2 separate regions of the Homo sapiens genome follow, and region 2 is linked to region 1. The links are contacts of gene promoters, found by promoter capture Hi-C in blood cells and fetal thymus (Javierre and others, 2016). All regions are on one chromosome and are shown on one strand. The core of a region is centred on a gene start or on the middle of the fragment in contact, and the rest is flanking DNA. Distances in the headings are between cores, read along the strand shown.

Region 1 (3,676 bases), core at 643-3,142:
TAATTACTACTGCAGACACAGAGGAGACCAATTCCATTCCTTCCCTGGCCTCTTGGATTCTTTGTTTACTCACCTCTTTCCAGTGACCACGTCTCCCACTTCCCCTTCCCCAGCAATACTCCCCTGTCATCCTCACCTCTCCCCTCCCCCCAGCTCATTTCCCAGAACCCACCATCCATTTATCTTCTCTACTTTATACAACACTGCTGGGAGGAAGGGCTCTTCCTCAGTGGAGCCCAGGAACCTCCATGAGGAGCCCATTTCTCCCTTCACAACCAAAAAATTGCTTCCTGTAGAATAACAAGCAGAGGGAAAAGGCTGGAAGGAGATATGTTATCGGGGTGTTCTCCAGGGGGTGGGACTGTAGGTGACTGACATGTTTGTTTTTCATACTTTTCTCTAGGTTTTACGTTTTCTATTATGAGCAGATTACTTTTATAATCAGTAAATATTTAGAGGAGAGGTTAAACCACAGCTCTTCGAAGAAGACAGGGCTATGTTTGAATCCTGCCTCCACAGTTAGGAGTCATGCTTCCTTGGAAAAATCTAACTTTCTAAACCTCAGTTGGCACATCTGTGAAATAATACCTACTTCACAGGGTTGTTGCTATGATTAAATATAAAGTGCTGGCTACAGGGCAGGCATTCACAAACTGGCAACTATTACTTAAACTAATAAGAGTTAAAATCGCAACCACCACCACTTGCCCCTAAGTGTTCTCTGCCTCTTGGTACCCAGACATGGGAAAGTCTCACCTATTATAGAACTGGGCTATCCTTCCCTTCCAAAGCCCACTTTTTTTTTCTTTACTATGCCATAAGGTGGCAAAGTCAGTAACCTCGTGTATCATTAGCTGGTTGACTGAATGACTGAAAATACAAGGACTTTGGAATAGTCTTTCTCCAAGTGCAGAGGCAAAAAATAAATAAGCAAACAAATAAATTTCATATACGTATGATCACTGTACTCTTCCAGTGAGGCAGGAGCCAGGGCCTATGCCAGGCGCTTTCATACCGAGTCACCTTTACAGCAAACCCCTCGGGCGCTGGGCACTTGCAGTACCCAGGTTTCCGCGTGGGCGCTGACAAATTGCAGACACTTCCTTTCCTCGCCAGCAGGGCTCTCTCGCGGTCACTTCACCCAGCCCCTTCCGAGCGAGAAGGCCTTGGGGGCCGGGACAACCCCTCCCCAGAACCACCCTGACTAGGCTCTTTGCAGCCAGCATCACTACCGAGCTAACCAATATGGACCAGCCTGCGCTGCACAGGGCGCTTAGGCGATCGTTGGAGGGTCATGAGGATCAGCCTGTCCGCCCACCGACGGCGGCGCAGTGGGATGGGGAACGGGGTGGGGGCCGAAAGACGGGAGGAAGGAGTCGCTGCAGTGTCTCCAGGCGATGGTTGCCAGCGTCTCACTGGGGAGGAAGTTCCTCCTGTCATCCAACCCGCAGTTCCCCTCTTGCAGAGCCCTGCCGAGCTCCCAGTCCAGCCTAGGCTGTCTAACGGATGGGCGCTCAGACGCCCCCGCGAGTTGAGGAGCATTTTTCCTAGGGCTTCCAAGTCGGGCGGGCGCCTTCCACCATCCACCACCCACGTCTCGGCAAGGACCCCTTTTCTTTCTGCTCCTAGGTCTTCCGCATCCACTTCCATCCCTCTCTCGCCCTCCAGGGCTTTCTCAGGCGCCTCTCGCAGCGGACCCCGCCAAGTGCCCCTCCCCCGGGCCCTCTAACTTACGGTGCAGCAGTCCATGCTGGTGTCGGGGGGTCCTCTGCGGGGACGAAGGCTGGCGCAGGGCGGGGGTGGGGTCTGTGTGGTGCCGGGTGGGGGCTCTGGGGCAGTCGGCCGCCAGCCGACCCGCGCCGAAACAGCAGCTCTGCTCTCGGGTCCGGTCTCCCGCGCTCGGCTCCGCTCGCGAATGTAACCTGAGCCCCGCGGCCGGGAAGCCAATCAGGAGCAGCCTCCGGCAGGGTGGGCGGGGAGAAGTGGAGGGAGGGCCACGCCCTCTCGCGGCTCTCTGCGCCGCGCTCCCGCTCCTGCCCCAGCCCCTCCGCCTACACGCTTGTATCCAAGCCTCCTACACACTCCATCCTCCCGGGCGCAATCCCCTGGCTTGCTAGGCGGCAGACTGCCAGGCAGATGTACGCCGGAGTAGGCAGAAGGAGGCCCCCGACACCCCGAGCACAAACACCCACATCTGGGCACAGCACCTACTCCCGCTCAGAGAAAACCACGCACCCCTCACCCATCCCTCCATACTTCCACAACCTAGCAGGAGTCCCAAATATGGCTCCCTTTCACTTCACTCCCCCTCAGTCCGCAAAGAAAGGCTCCCTAACGGGCGGTAAAAAGGTCTCATCATCACTCCTGCTACAGACGGAGAAACCTGTTGGTACAACCTGGCGATGGGCATGCGTCCACACAAAAGCTCACAAGCCCCACATGTCCACATATGATTTTCCCAGGCCTTCTTCCAGCATACAGACACTGCAGATACAACCTGCAAAAATAACTACGCAGCCCTTCAGTTGCAGGTAAATGCGGACACCCTGTTGCGGGCGCCCGCGCGCTCACGCACGCACACGGACAGTCACCCAACTCAAGCTGTCGGCATGACGTATCTATTATCGATCTGTCTACATGAGCTGCAACAAACAACATCATATATGCACAACACCTATTTTGTATGTATTTATATATGGGCACAGACTTGGAAGAAGTATCCTCCTCCCTTTCATACCAGACTCTGCCTAACCTTTTGATCTGCTGCCTCAGAATAAGACAAAAGCTGGCCATCCTCGCCCTTGCTCCTGAGAAGAAGAAAAATACCCTAAACCCAAGTGTAGAGAATTCGAAGTAATTGGCTCTTGGGTCCATGATGAGGCAGGATGTGGGCTTCGTGAGAGGCTGGGAAGGGGAGCTATGGAAAGAGCATCTGGGAGGGACAGACTGCCACTGTTGTGGTCGTCAGCCTCCCCCAACTCGGCAGGGTACAAAAGCTGGCAGTGTGGCTTGTTATGTGGGTAGGGTAGGCCTTCTCTGAGAAAACTAGAAAGTCTTCTCAGCTAAGGTCCCAGAGAAGGGAAGGAGGAAAGGATGGCTCCTGCTGGGAGCAAAGGTGGGAAATGCCCTGTGGCTCTGGTTGGGACAGCAGATCCTGAGACAGCTCTGCTGTGCATCCCCAGTCCCTGGCCATGACCAGGGACCACGTGGCGGTGACATGCTTCCTTTCCACCTAGATGTTTGGGCCCGAGGCTCTGCTTGCCAAAGGAAAAATGAGTGGGAGAGAAATGCCTGAGTCCATTCAGGGTGGGGATAAGGTTAGCCAGCTTGGGGTCCCAGGCTGAGCTGGATGCTGGCCGGGATTCCAGGGCTTGGGGTGTAGGGGTGTCTCTCCCAGCATGTTTGGGACCCACCCACTTTTGTAAAAAAAAATCTGTTCCCCAATCTGTCTCTGGCACATCTTTCATCTCCCCACCTCCTCCAAGTGGCCAGATGTCCTGGGAACTCAGGCCCTTGCCTAAATGACACGCACATCTGTGGCCTTCTGTTGTGCCAATTCCTGCTGGACTTCAACTCCAGAATCCAGAGAGGAGAGGAAAGGGGGAAATTGGGGGACAGAGTGGATACCAGGCCTAGACTCTGTGCTTTTCTCTTCCCAAATTAGAGCTGAGGAATT
Region 2 (3,676 bases), core at 371-2,870, 330 kb before region 1:
GGCTGAGTCCTAATTTCTGGTTCTGCCACTTAATGTGACCTTGGGCAAGTTGTTGTACGTCTCTAAGCCTCAGTTCGATCTTCCTTTAAATAAGATCATATTCCCCTGCTGCACGAGAGTGTTATAAAGATTAAATGAGATATCCTGGATGTGGAAGTGTCTGGCACACAGCAGATTTTCTCTCAGTATGAATTTGAATGTCTTTCCCCTGCGTCCTCCTCAGAGTGGGCACCAGGATCCGGCAGTGAAAGCCCTTAGCTAACTCCACAGGGCAGAACCATCCATTCTAGCTCAGCTGTGGCCTTTTGCAGCTCACAGGGGAAGATCGAGGTGTGGGAAAAATGGCACCACAGGAGCTCACAGCTCCTGCTCTTCCTGCCTGCCCAATTCACCCTCCTGCCCATTCCTGCTCATCCAGCTGTGGTCACCCTGGTATTTCCTCCCACAGGCTCTTCTTCTGCACGTTCTGGGCCATCCCCCTCAGAGGGCCCCAGGAAATGGGCCCAGCCCCATAAGCACCAGCCACAGTCATCTCCCATGCTGCCAGCTGCCCCCAGACGCACCCACACAGACACTGGTACAAAAGGCAGGAACCAGCCAGGCTCCAGGCTGGGGAACCTCCAGGTGCTCTGTGGCTCTGAAACGCCATGGACAAGCCATTCATTGTCATCCTGACGAGGAAGGCCTAACAGGAGGAGGAGAGCAACATCTTCCTGGACAGAAACTCCGCCATCTCTGACTCTTGCCTGGATGTCTGCAGCTGTCTCCACACACCTGGCGCCACATGACTCCCAGCCTCCTGTCCAGGGGCACCTTTTGTTCCTACCAGCTGGAGCTACATGTTACTACTTCAGAGACAGGGGACAGGCCATGTCTCCACTTGCATGCCTTTGCTGGCTCTGTGACCTCTGCTCAGAACACCTCCAGATCCAAGTCAAAGACTTCCTTCTTCTCCTAATGGAGATGATTCTCTCCCTCCACAGAAATTTATAAGCACCTAGCCAATACCAACTACGCTAGACACTGGGCTAAGTGCTTTAAGCAGCTTCTCATTTAATTTCACCAAAACCCCGTGATATAGGTACATCATTTTTTCCATTTCATAGATAAGGAAATTGAGCCTGGGAGATGTTAAGTAATTTGTCCAAGGCCAAATGGCCATGTAATCTTTTCCCCACCCAACACTATCATTAGGAAGGCAGCGGAAAGACCATGGGCTTACGAGTCAGACTAATCTTGATTCCAACTCCAGCTCAGTCATTTATCAGCTGTGTGGTGCTGGACAGGCTTACATAACTGCTCTGTGCCTCATTACACTCATATGTTCCACAGGGAAGCTAACATTCACCTTGCAGTTCCACAAAAATTACAAATAAACAATGCCTGGCACAAAGTAGTAGGAAAAACAAATAGAATATAGTCAATCATTAGTGTTTACTCAGTGTTTCATATCAGCCTGGCACTGACCTAAGTACCTTACACGTAGTACCTCATTTAAACCTCAAAACACTCGTGTGATACAGGTATTATTATTATCCTCATTTTACAGAGGAGGAGTCCAAGGCCCAGGGCCAGTCCACTTTCAGCTTCCTATTCTGTCTTCTTCACTTCTTAAATGCCCTCCTTGGGGACATGTGAAAGCAGTTAAATGTGACAGAGATTTGATTTCTCATTTTCAGACTATAAGTCTTTATTTTTATTTGTCTGCACCCTGGCCTGTATTTTGTTTAGCACAAGAAAGGTGAATTGGGTTAATATGTATCTGTAATAATAACATCACCATCATTAATAATGATAGTAAAAGCCGCCATGTATTCCATGCTTCCTGTATACCAGGCAATGTATACATATAATCTCTAACCTTTTATGTGTTAAGTGCTCAGCAAGTCAGTTTTCTTCAAAATCTCCCCAACCGACTTCTGCATTCCCCTCGCTGGTCCTCTGAATGACATGGCACATAGGAAATGCCATCCTTTGGCACTCAATAAGTAGAGCAGGGCCTTCTAAAATTGCTGACTGTGTGTACACAGCCCCTCTCCAGCTTGATTCTTAGTTCCAAGAAGGTAGAACCCTGTCTTGATTGTCTTTGCAGGCCTCAGAGCTCAGCATAATAATGTACTTACAGAAGAACTACGTGACATTTAGTGTTTGATAGGAATCCAAATCTAAACTTATCTGGAAGGAAGTAAAAGGATACCTGTTGAGTACCCTCCAGCAGCCACAAGACGTCAAGAATGTTTCCTTATATTATCGCATTTATCCTCAAGAACCCATCTGACTTTTATTGATGAGGAAACTGGGGCTCAGCAAAGTCAAGGCTCACAGTGGTGAAAGGATTTCAACCAAGGTCTGTCATAAATCCCAGAGATGTTGGGGAATACCGTAGCTGAATTCACACCTTGAGAAGTGTGAAAGTGAAGAGTGTTGGAGGCTGGAGAAAGTCATGTTATGCGTATTACTGAGCCCTTCTAGAATGCCAATGTGTTCTAGATGGTTTATAATGATCCACCCTCCCCACTCCCCATTCTCTCTGAAATGTTAGTTACTTTGGTTAAAAGATATAACTAATATACATGAATGAGACTCTACTAGGAACAATCGTGGCAGAGAGGTATGACTTTGTATACATGGTATTGAAACCTGTTTTTGTTTATTAAAAGGAAAAATATTACACATAAGAAAAATGACTGGTTGTTCCAGAATAAGAAAGGGAACAGGGAAGGTCAAATCTGAATGGATACATTTTAGGTTTGTAGAAAGGAAATTTGATTTGTCTTGGATTATAGTACATCAAACAATAAGTCTAAAAATAAGCAATTAAATGTGTTAAAATTTTGCCAAAGTTGGCAAAATCTTGATAAGTTTGTGAATATTTAATTTAAAAAGAGGAAGGGCTCCTGGAAAACCACAAAGATTTGTTCTTTCATCTTTTAAAAAGAGAGGTGCTAGAAATCATTAGATTTATTTAATATGTTAATATTGATCAATTGCTTGGAAATAATTGTCAAGTCAGAAGAGATGCTCAGCCTTCTCTAGGTTAAATTTATATTGGTAAAATATTATTATTTATCTAAATATTTGAGAAATTATATGCTATAAAAGAGTTGTGCAGACTTCTCAATGCCCTCTCTGTACATGACATGTTTCTATTTATCAGCACCCTGATGGTGCCTTCCCCGATAACAACAGTATACGTGTTACTAGTCACGATTTCAATTATTATTTAAAATGTTACTGGAGGCTGGGCATGGTGGCTCATGTCTGCAATCCTGGTGCTTTGGGAGGATGAGGTGGGAGGATGAGGTAGGAGGATGGCTTTAGGCCAGGAGTTTGAGACCAGCCTGGGCAACATAGCAAGACCCTGTCTCTACAAAAATAAAAAACTTAGCTGGGTGTGGTGGTGCATGCCTGTAGTATCAGCTACTTAGGAGGCTCAGGCAAGAGGATCCCTTGAGCCCAGGAGTTTGAGGCTGCAGTGAGCTATGATCGTGCCACTGCACTACAATCTGGGTGATAGAGCAAGACTTTGTCTCGAAAAAATAAAATAAAATAAAATAAAATAAAATAGTTACTAGGCTGCAACTTTCCTTCTTTAATTTAAATGTAGCATCTTCCAGGCCACTGGTTTTCAACTGGAGATGTACATCAGCCTTTCCTTTGCAGTTTTATTAAAATA

The links. The method cuts DNA at HindIII sites, captures the fragments that hold promoters and counts their contacts. A CHiCAGO score of 5 or more calls a contact.
Region 2: a fragment that was not itself captured here is called in contact with the fragment with the promoter of NRGN in region 1 in 1 of 17 cell types (monocytes); the score reaches 5.1 in monocytes.

Annotation. Positions count from the first base shown.
Region 1 is chr11:124,738,158-124,741,833 of GRCh38, reverse strand. NRGN (neurogranin) reads right to left here and starts at 1,892. Exons shown (of 4, transcript NM_006176.3): 1 at 1,735-1,892. The coding sequence starts at 1,749. RefSeq lists silencers at 1,754-2,073, 2,134-2,193. The HindIII fragment of the contact is 6,441 bases long and covers 1-3,676 here.
Region 2 is chr11:125,066,855-125,070,530 of GRCh38, reverse strand. All of the region lies in intron 1 of SLC37A2 (solute carrier family 37 member 2), which reads right to left. Among named protein-coding and RNA genes, the nearest start is that of SLC37A2, 5.4 kb to the right of the region's middle. The HindIII fragment of the contact is 4,165 bases long and covers 1-3,676 here.